Regions from separate parts of the Homo sapiens genome. Here regions 2 and 3 are each linked to region 1. Evidence: promoter capture Hi-C in 16 types of primary human blood cells and fetal thymus (Javierre and others, 2016). All regions are on one chromosome and are shown on one strand. The core of a region is centred on a gene start or on the middle of the fragment in contact, and the rest is flanking DNA. Distances in the headings are between cores, read along the strand shown.

Region 1 (3,439 bases), core at 869-3,368:
GCCTTCCTCCAGCTTGCCAAAGTCGGGGATAAGCAGGCTGCCATTGGCAAAGGCCTGGAAGCGCGGCTGGGAGCTGGCCACAGGGGTGCCAGGCAGGGCACGCCCATCAGTGCCCACGTTGGGGCTGGTGATCTCCACAATGCCACTGGGTATCTGGATGTGCCAGTGAAGCTGAGGGGCCGGCTGCCCGTCCACATCACAGTGCAGTGCCAGCACAAAACCAGGCCGCAGCTCGGCACCATCCTGGCTGGGTTGGTAGCTGAGCTGCACTGAGGGCGCCGAGCATGGCAGTGGCGGCAGGCGGCTCAGCGGCGTACCCTTGAGCACATGGGGTGAGGTGCAGGCGATGTTGTCCTGCTCCGGGATGGACACGGCCGTGGTCAGGGCCCATGTCTTGAGCCACACGATGCCGCAGGTGCAGTCGAAGGGGTTCTCGTTGATCTGCAGGTGGGACAGCGCGGTGAGCGGGGTGAAGGTGCCCTCGGCCAATGTGTGCAAGCGGTTGTGGTTGAGTTGCAGCGAGCGCAGAGCACGGAGGCTGCGGAAGGCGTCGCGGGGGATGAAGGTCAGCTCGTTGCTGTCCATCTTGAGCAATTGGAGGGCACTGAGGTTGTGCAGGTCGCTCCAGGCAAAGTCAGAGATGAGATTGTGGCTGAGGTCCAGGCTCTTGAGATGGCTCAGAGAGGCCAGGGCTCCGGCGGCCACCGTGCGGATCTCATTGTGTGCCAGCCACAGCGACTGCAGCAGGGGCACCTCCCTGAAGGCACCCTCCGGCAAGCCTGGCAGCCGGTTGGCTGACAGGCTCAGTGTAGTCACATTGGCCGGGAAGCCAGGCGGCACGGATTCTAGGTCGCGGTAGGCACAGTCGGCGATCTGGAAGCCATACTTTTCCCCACAGTCGCAGGGCTCAGGGCAGGCCTGAGCCAGGCCCAGGAGAAGCGCCCACCAGAGCAGATGCAGCTCCTGCATGGTGCCTCCTGCAGAGAAAGGCATGTCACCCAGGGGATCCCGAGAACCTGCCAAAGGGACTCATTCCTCCCACAAGCCCAGCCAGAGCTCTTTCCCATCAGGAGGCCCTGTCCCACATAACCCAGCTAAATCCCAACACCACCTAGCCCACCGCCCCCATCCTACGGAAGGAGAAACTGAGGCCAAGAGAAGGGCGGAGACTTGCCCGAGGTCACGCAGCCAGGCAGGATGAAGACGGGATGGAAGAGGACCCCAGCTCCTCCTCCGAGTGGAGAGTTCTCCCTGCCTCGGCCTGTTCCTAGCTGACTTTATGACTTGAAATCTGTTTTCCAGCCACCCCCCTCCCCCAGCACTTTGCAGAACCTCCCCCTGCCCTCCCACATCCTGGCCGCAGTCCCTCCCACCGGAGCCCCCCATAGGTATGCTTTGCCTTGGCCCAGACGAGGCCCCTTGTGCAGTGCACACCACCCCCATCCACTCCACCCGCCCTCTCCCGCTCCTCCGGCCATGACCGCAGCAGACACCAGGCCTTTTCTGTGGAATCACACCCGTGGCCTGTTCTGTTCAAACTTAGCCAGGCAGCTGCCTAAATAAACCCCCGCCAGGACCTCTCAGCTGACTTGGGTGAGGCCAGAGGCTCAGCCCAAACGCAGCTGGGATTTCTGGGGCCTCAGTTGTGGGTTGTGGAAGAAGCAGATGCCCCCTGGACGGCTCCAAGCTAGGGATTGTCCCACGCACCTCAGACCAGCAGGGATGGACCAAGAGGGAACCAGCCCCTATGTCCAACAGGCCTCCCGCTCCCGCCGCTGGCCCTGGAGCCCTCCTCCCCACTGGCTTACCTTCAAGCTACTCTTAGTCAAGCGGAGCCTCTTCTAAGGTGGAACCAAAAAGCAACAGAGGACCTTAGCCCTGAGAGTCTGCAGGGCCACGGGCGCCCAAGGGAGGACTTGGATGCTGGGGCGAGGGGCAGCCTGGTCCCACCCCACCTTCGATGTGCAGGCCTGTGCCCTCCCTGCCCCAGACAGGGTGCCTGGAACCATCCACTGAGAGGAGGCGGCAGGGAGGAGCCCGGGGCAGCCCGCGCACTCCCTCCTTCCAGCAAAACAACTGCTTCTCTGCAGCAACAAGGACCTGTGTTTCATAAGTGACACCAGAAACTTGAGGGGGGAAGAGATGCCAAATTTTTTTGGGTTGTGTTTTTTCTCTCTCTCTCACTCACTTTTAGCAGCTTCAACTTCCTTAAAGACACAGCACTGTCTGGAAAGGACCCAAGAAATGATGGGGCCAGGAGGATTTTAGCGGGGGAAGGGCGAGAAATTGAATCTCATGGAAGGTGGGAGATTTCCACTTCAAACAAGAAAAAACGGGAAGCTTTTGTCCAAGCCAGGGTTGTATGTGTGTTGGTGTGTATACGTGTGTGTGTGTGTACAAGTTTGTGGGTGTGAGGGTGCGTATTTCTGGATTTGTATGTGTGTTTGCATGGATGTGGGTATGAAACCATGTACATGAGTTTGTGTGTGAGTGTGTGTGTGTGTCTGTCTTGGTGTGGGTTTGTGTGTGGAAGTGAGTGTGCATCCATGTGTGTGTGTTTCAGTGAAAAGCCAAGAAGGCCAAAGTGTACAAAGCAGATACCAACCCTTCGGTGAAAGCCAAGATGTTAGGCATTTTTTTTTTTTTTAAGAAAACATATCCTGCTGGCTCTGAGACTGAGCTGCGCTAAATGCATGTTGTTGTCCAGGGAGCTCCCAAGACTCCAGGCCCCGCCCCTCACTGCGCTCCCCACTGGCTGGGGAGGAAACAGGGAGGCCTGGCTCAGAAAACTCAGGGCGGGAGCCTGTTGACCTTCAGTGCTCCTGGCTGGGATTCTGAGCCACCCAGGCCCACTGCCCACTGGGCACCCAGAGGGGAGGCCAAGGGGCCGCACTCCCGGAGAGTTCTCTCTGTGTCCCCCACAGGGCCCAAAATCCCACTGTTGGTGCTGGACATCTACGCGGTCAGCATCGGCCTCTCTGAGCTCCACTGTTCCAACACCAACTGTGTGGAAGGGGCAGACGCCTCCAGGGTGAGGATATGTGACCCCTTTTCCAAACGGGAAGGCCCAGGGGAGGGGAATGGGGAAACAAAAGAGGCCCAAAACGAGGGAGCTGGAAGAGAAACCGAAAGATGAAGGAGCCCAGAAAAGAACTTTGTAGACTGAAGAATTTTGCTCTCCACAGACAAGCCTACCGTATCCCCTCAGTAGCCCTCCCCAAGCTTCCTTGGCCTTCCATCTGATAACTGGTTGAATTCTGCTCATGACTCAACTTACCCTCTCAGCAGGGCCAAGGGCAGACAGGGCTCATCTTTGGCTGAAAGCATCCCCAGGAAGCCTGCCCCAGCTCATCACACCCCATTCCCTGTCACCAAGCAAGGCCACAGAAGTCCCCAGCATGCTGCCTGCAAAACACCCGAGTCTGATGCTGAGGATATT
Region 2 (3,399 bases), core at 323-2,822, 89 kb before region 1:
AGATTCATCCAGACACACATATAACCACACTGTTGCAGCTAGACACACCCACGCGCACACACACATAAGACACACAGACATGCATGCCTACAAGTACAGACACAGCACACACCACATTCACACATGCGCATGAACCAGCATGCAGGCATTCACAAAGACATGCACACACAGGCACGCATGTGCCTCTGCATGAAATCCTAGGTCAATTTTTCCTCCTCTTTTGCATCTTCTTAAAGCATCCCAACAGCTCCACCTATCCCTTTACAGGCAGAAAAGAAAAATTATCTGGCTTGACCTAGAACTAGCTCCTTCCCCTTTTACGGAGGCTCCCCTTCCTGTTTCCTTTCTCCTCTCCCATAGTCTTCAGCTGGCTTTCTGCTCTGTGTGAGGAGAACAAGGAGATCTGTCTAGGTCCTGGCAAGATTTCAAGGGGGAGAGGCAAAGCCTGTCCTCTCAGGGAGAGACCACCTGCAAGAAGCAAGTCTGAGGTCCTGACTAGATAAGATCAGAGACATCGCCAGGCACCTCCAGTCTGTGCTGGCAGTGCCAGATGCGATGCCCCCCTACCCGGGCATCAGCCAATCAGTATTCCCTTGTGTCCAGCCTGAGCTCCCCCAGGAGAATGGAAATCCAACAGACCCACAGTGTGAAAGTAAATATAAGTGTGCACATGCATGTGTGTACATGGGCACCTCGTGGCTCAGGCTGACACCTGGGGAGGACTAGGCAGGAATAGGGATCCATTCTAGGGACATTTCAAATATTTTTTAAAAAATCAAATGGAAGCAGCGGGAACCCTGGAGCTGCAGTAAGAACATGCAATGCTGAGTCCTTGGTCCTTGGTCTTAAGCTTAAGCCAGTTAAATTCCCTGAACCTCGATGTTCTCTTAAGCAATGGGAGCAGCATTGCTCCTCCTGGGAGGTGGTGACTCCAATGAGTGATGTGTGGGGACGTGCCAGGAAGCTGTAATGTCCTGTTTCAGTAGGAGACAGCGCTAATAACAGCCATGAAAATAATAACAACAGTCATAAAAAAGATAAGCTTGCATTGTCTGGAAAATTCATTTATGTGGAACAACTCATTTTTCGAGCAGGATGGGGAGATGAGGCGTGACAGTATTATGATTTTTTCTAAGTGCTTTTAACTGAGCCCAAGGAGGTGTTCAGGTGGCTACCAGCTGCAGTGAGAGGGAGCCTGCTTCTTGCTCTAAGTCCTTGGCTGTGTTCACACCCTGCCTGCACATGCCGGCCCTGCCCAGCCCCTGCTTACCTTCTTGCCCTGCATCCTCAGCTTGGATCTCCACATTCACCGTGTCCCCCCAGATAGGGGCTCTGGTGGGCTCTGAGGTCACAGATGTGACTGCCTTGGAGCTCTGATTGTTCTTTTCCTCAGATGTGCTTTTCCTGGGGAGAGCAGGGGCAGGGTGAGTCAAAGGGAGGGGTTCTGTCTGCTGCTTGTCCCCATCCCAGGCTCCACTGTCCATAAATCTGAGTGAAAGGTGGACAGAATATGGAGAGCTCTGTCCCATGCATAGACACTTGTGTCATCCCAGGCCTCTCCCCCAGCTCTCCTGCCAGCCCAGGTGACCACACTGTCTCGCTGGCCACTACTGAGGCCTTCACTTAGTCACAAGCCTCTCACTTAGAGAGGCTCAGGGCAGGGGTAGGGATGGGGGTAGAGGGTAGATGCTTTGCCCGCCTGACTTCCTAGCCCTTGCCAGGGAGGGCTCTCCAGCAGGAGCCCGTGTGCATGGCCTCCCTCTTCTCTAGGTTCTGTTTCGGTGGGAGGAATCCTCTGGGCAGAGTGGCTGTGCGATGCCCCGCCTGGCTGTCCTCTCTTCTTCACCTTATTTCCCTAAACTTCTGGCCCAGATTTCCAGGCTCCACCCGGCAATCCCAGTTCTAAATGCTTGCAATGAAGCACGCACATCCTGCTGCCTTCTGAGATGCCTGCTGTGTGCAGGGCCTTGGGCTGGGCCCCTGGAGCTGGAAACCTGGAGCTGGGTCCAGGCCTGGGGGCAGGGGGTGGTGGAAAGGGCTTTCCAGCCCTCAAGCACTCAGATTGTTCAGGACCAGGCTGTATAAGGTGAGAGGTAAGCTTGGGCCCTCTGCATCCCAGTGCACCCCACAGATATCGGAGATCCAGAGCCGTCAAACGGCTCAGGGAGAGAGTGAATACTTCTTCTGTAGAAGAGGTTACTAGGCCAGGGCCATCCCCAGCGCTGCTCCATTAACTGCAGCAGTCATGGGCTGAGGAATCATCCCAGAGATCCTGTAGCAGGGGGAGCCACACCACACACCTTGCGGAGGGAGGCAAGACGCACTAATGGTACCCCAGGATGGGAACAAAGACGTCATCCCCACCAGCCCTTGTTTCACCCTCAAGGACCCCAAAGGGAGTGTGGGGCAGGCCAGTTGGCTCAGACCCCACCTTCTCTGTGCATTAGCAATACCAACATGGTTCTTCCCAGCCCAGCTTGTTCCTCTCCTCCAAGAAGCCCTCTGGAGTCCCCCGGCCCTCACTGTTCCCTCTGCCCTTTAGACTTAAGTGACGCTGTGACCTGGCTCCTTGCTCCCACTCATCACAGCCCTGCTCCTGTGGGTAACCATGCTTGCAGGAGCCCTTCTTCTGTGGGTGACCATGCTTGCAGGAGTTCCATCTCCAAGTTCCAGGGGTCAACTGAGGACTCCTGCTGTGCTTTGACTGAGGCAGTATGACACAGTGATTGTAAGAAGGACCCTGCAGCTGGGCATTTTGGGTTCCAAATCCCAGCTCTACCCCGTGCCAGCTGTGTGATGTTAGGCAAGGTACAGAACCTGTGGTGCCTTATTTTCTTCATCTATAAAACAGAGATGCTAACGGTGCCCAGCCTGCAGGGCGGTTGTGGGAAGGAAACGAATGAATATGTGTAGTGCCTGGCACATTGCTAAGTACCAAGAAAGTGTTAATAATTCTTAGTACCTTAAATTATTAAAATATAAATATGATTCCTGTTATTACCCCATAGCACCAGAGAGCTTAGCCTTATTGACCCTCCTGTGACCAGCCCCTTTGCCGTGGCGTGATTTTTCCCCATCATGCCCCCAGTTCTGGGTCTACAATTGGGAATGTCTGGCTGCTCGGGCCAAGGTGTGGAATCCTGGAAAGAGCACAGGCTTGGGAATGATTCAGAGCTGGGTTTGGAGCCCGCGTTTATCCTGGCGAGATCATCTCCCCTCTGCACCTACTAAGTTCCTCCTTTTTCAATAGTACCGCCCTGAGAGAGTGTTATAAGGACTGGAAAGAAAGCATGTTCAGCTCCTGGCATCCAGAAAGCCCCAGTTCATGTTATTCCCTCATTTGTGATACAAAACAGCTTGGGTGTTTTTGCAAGAGGACCTGCCTGAGGGCAGCATGAA
Region 3 (3,685 bases), core at 390-2,889, 110 kb before region 1:
AAAGCACAGACTCTCATGTCTCTCCTGCCCCATCCTAAGCTTCCTTTGATTTGTTTGTTTTCTGTTTTTAGAGACAGTCTTGCTCTGTCGCCCAGGCTGGAGTGCAGTGGTGTGATCTCGGCTCACTGCAACCTCCGCCTCCCAGTAGCTGGGATTACAGGCTCCTGCCACCAAGCCCAGCTAATTTTTGTATTTTTAGTAAAGACGGGGTTTCTCCATGTTGGCCAGGCTGGTCTCAAACTCCTGACCTCAGGTGATCTGCCCACCTCGGCCTCCCAAAGTGCTGGGATTACAGGTATACAGATTTAATCTCTCCAGAGCCACCACGCCCAGCTCTAAGTTTTCTTTGGATGGGATGGGAAGAGCTCTACACTGGACCTAGAACCTGAGCAGGTGAGGGAAAGGGCACCTGTGGGTAAGGGGTGGATCTGTCTCCTCTGCCTCCTGCCAAATGACCTGAGGCAATGAGAGGATAGGAGGGCAGAGGCTTTGGGTGTGGAAAGGAGGGCAGTGAGGGATGGTGTGAGATAGTGGCAGGGAAAGGGTCTCTCTCTCTGGATCCATCCTTATGGTAGTGTTTTCACAGATGGAGTCTTGGGGGTGGGAACAGAGCCTTCAGAGGGCAGAACCAGTGGAGGAGACTGCTGTGCTGCCCTGGGCACTGGCCCATTCAGGCCGCTGTGCTTGGGGAAGAAATGGAGGGAGGTTTGTGTTGCAGTTTCTCTAAGGACCATCTCAGGGGTGTCAGGTGTGGCTTACAAAAAATCCATAAAAATTCTTCAAAAGCCAGCATGATGCTGCCTGTCCCCTGCCCTTTCCTCTATATTTGCTAAGTGGCCACTTGTCCTCACTCTGGGCTGGTCTCCAGAGAGATCTTTGTAACTAGTCTGAAAAGAAGCCACCAGAGTAGCATCAAAGACTTGCCCCCCTCTCTCCCTATGAGGGGAAGAGGGAGGGGGAAGGTCAGATGGGACCATGGCACCTGCCCCTCCCCTCAGTGGTGGCAGCAGGTGCCACTGCCACCTCTCCTCAAATGCACCCTCTCTATACTCCCAGGAAGCCAGGGGGTTTCACGTCATCCCAGCATGTCTGTGGGCTGTGGGCTGAGGAGGGTGTGGCCACCCATCTGAGAGGCCCTACTTCTGCCTGGTGCCCTATCTGGGCAAGGTGATGGATCCCAAATCTTAAATGCAAGAGGAGAAATGTTGCTGTATACCCAGATGACGGCATGAACTTGTCCCACCTCATGGGGAGGTGCATTTCCAGGCAGAGAGGCAGGAACTGATGCAGTGAGCACCTACTGTGTGCATGCCAGGCTCCAATCCACAAGGTCAGCCCAGGAAACCTGGGCAGTGTGGGCCTCACTTCAAAGAGGCTGGCTGCAAGCTGGAGGGCACCCAGGATGCTGTGGGATCTCGAAACCAGTTCATTAAGAGAGCCAAGCTGCTTTGCCTGGGGAAGTGTAGACTCCCCAGAGACCACATCACACTCTTCAAAGAGAAGAGGCTGAGATCAGAGGAGGAATGGAGGAGACCAAAGGTTTCTGTGTGTGTGTGTATGTGGAGTAGCCATAGGCTCATGGAGTTTTTTTGTTTGTTTGTTTTTGTTTTTGAGACACAGTCTTGCTCTGTTGTCCAGGCTGGAGTGCAGTGGCATGATCTTGGCTCACTGCAACCTCTACCTCCCAGGTTCAAGTTATTCTCCTGCCTCAGCCTCCCAAGTAGCTGGGATTACAGGCACCCACCACCACACCCAACTAATTTTTGCATTTTTAGTAGAGACAGGGTTTCACCATGTTGGCCAGGCTGGTCTTGAATTCCTGACCTCATGATCCGCCCGCCTCAGACTCCTAAAGTCTTGGGATTACAGGCGTGAGCCACCGCACCCAGCCAGACTCATGGATTTTTAGAGCCTAATGGACCTCAAAGGCCAGTCCCCACTGAATGTGCAATAAAGGGAAGTTTTCTGTGTATGTGTTTTTGTATATGAGTGTACATGTTTTTCTAGTTTTTGTGTGATCTGTGTGTGTTCATATACGTACTCACCTACACACACAAGCCATCTTAATGCAGATCACTTTAAGCAGCAAATGACTAGAGAAGTCCTACCAGAGGGTGAAAAACGAACCCATCACCAACCAACCACCTTCAAGTGCAATATTCCAAACCAGAGACCACCACCTCTTGCCATTCACTGAGTCTGCAGGCTTTGTTATCTAGTCTGCCCTCAAAAGTGTTGGCTGACTATGTGATCTATGTAGGAGGCTTGCTGAGGTCGCCCTGCAGCCTCGGGGGCAAAGCCAGGAGCTTGGGGCAGAGGGAGGTCCCCAGGAGGCAGGTTGAGATCATGTGGGGTGGCCATTTCTATCACTCAGCCATAGGAAGGCCTGCTTCTGGAGGTAGTGAGCTGTCTGTCATGGCAGCACAGGAGGAGAGACTGGGATGACCACGTGCTGCCAGGGAGATTGCTGTCCAGTGTGGGCTGTTGAGAGAGGCCACTGCTGTCTCTGCCTATTTGCAAATTTCACCATGCTGCTTCTGAAAGCTCTGAGAATGGGTGACGTGGTAGTGGCGGGTGTGGGGAAGCTGTGTTCACCAAAATGTCCAATTATCCAGGACAGCCTGTGCCCAAAACTCCTGGACATGGAGGCTCATGGAAAGAGCCTATGTCCTCAGACTGGGGCTGGGCCCAAATACGGCACGCGCATTCATTTCTCCTGAAGCATTTCCGCTCTGTGACAGCACTGACCATGTCTGACCACATGCAAAGAGCTACCCCTAGGATGGAGTTGTTGACCATGTGAACGAGGGGCCTGAGAGGCCCAATATCACAAGCCTCGGCAGCTGGAGTGTCCACAGGACTCTAAGACCTCCAGGTGTCAGGTGGTGGCTTCTGGACCCATTATGCAATATTTGATTTAAAGGGTGGAAGAGTTGATGGCCCCAGCCCTGCTGCTGCCTTCCCAAAGTCTAGGATGCAGAGATGAATACCAGGTACCTTCCATGATGAAGTTGCAGGCAACACCTTAGGCGCAACAATAAGGGGGCAGGAACCTGATCTCTTTGTTATAGCAGCTTAGCTCATCACCGTACTCAGCTACCATGAGGAGTCCAAATAGCCCCTTCAAGGACTCCGTATCATGTCACCTTGTTTGAGTTTCCTCAGACCCTTTATCATTAGCTGACATGAATTATTTTTTTATTGTCTGTTCCATACTCCCTGCTAAGAATGCAAGCTTTAGAAAGACAGGGCCTGATTGTTTTTTTTTCTTCTTCTTCTTCAGTGTAATATTCCTAAAATCCAGAACAGCAATTGCTCATGTGGGTGCTTCAGAAATGTTTGCAGTTGCATAGAGAACAATGATGGTATTGCAGTGAAGGTGGTGATGAGGGATGGAGAAGGGGATGGGCCCCTTTAGATTTAGCTGCAATGCCATCTGACCTGTTCATGAATTCTCAACACTTTCCTGCCATCCCTTAGGGAGAAGGATGCCAAAAGGTCTCAGACACTAGAGAGCCATGTCCAAGCCCAATGAAGGTGTGAGCTCAAATCAAAATGAGGTCCATGGCTGCCAACCCCTCCTTCTCCCCATTTCAATCCACAATGGCAGCCAAAATTCTACTTCTTGCCTTGCATGCTACCTGACATGCAGTGACTCCTCATCAAATATACATGGAATAAAAGA

Evidence for each region. The method cuts DNA at HindIII sites, captures the fragments that hold promoters and counts their contacts. A CHiCAGO score of 5 or more calls a contact.
Region 2: a fragment that was not itself captured here is called in contact with the fragment with the promoter of ISLR in region 1 in 1 of 17 cell types (endothelial precursors); the score reaches 5.1 in endothelial precursors.
Region 3: a contact is called between a fragment that was not itself captured here and the fragment with the promoter of ISLR in region 1, in 1 of 17 cell types (endothelial precursors). The highest score is 5.0, in endothelial precursors.

What each region holds. Positions count from the first base shown.
Region 1 is chr15:74,172,389-74,175,827 of GRCh38, reverse strand. It overlaps ISLR (immunoglobulin superfamily containing leucine rich repeat), which reads right to left and starts at 2,118. Exons shown (of 2, transcript NM_005545.4): 1 at 1,809-2,118; 2 at 1-977. The coding sequence starts at 969. RefSeq lists enhancers at 408-1,396, 1,397-2,384, 2,385-3,373. The HindIII fragment of the contact is 10,197 bases long and covers 1-2,342 here.
Region 2 is chr15:74,260,445-74,263,843 of GRCh38, reverse strand. CCDC33 (coiled-coil domain containing 33) reads right to left here. Exons shown (of 19, transcript NM_025055.5): 3 at 1,271-1,404. Among named protein-coding and RNA genes, the nearest start is that of CCDC33, 26 kb to the right of the region's middle. RefSeq lists an enhancer at 1-543. The HindIII fragment of the contact is 1,056 bases long and covers 1,045-2,100 here.
Region 3 is chr15:74,284,172-74,287,856 of GRCh38, reverse strand. The region is part of intron 10 of CCDC33 (coiled-coil domain containing 33); the gene reads right to left. Among named protein-coding and RNA genes, the nearest start is that of CCDC33-AS1, 34 kb to the left of the region's middle. The HindIII fragment of the contact is 3,196 bases long and covers 42-3,237 here.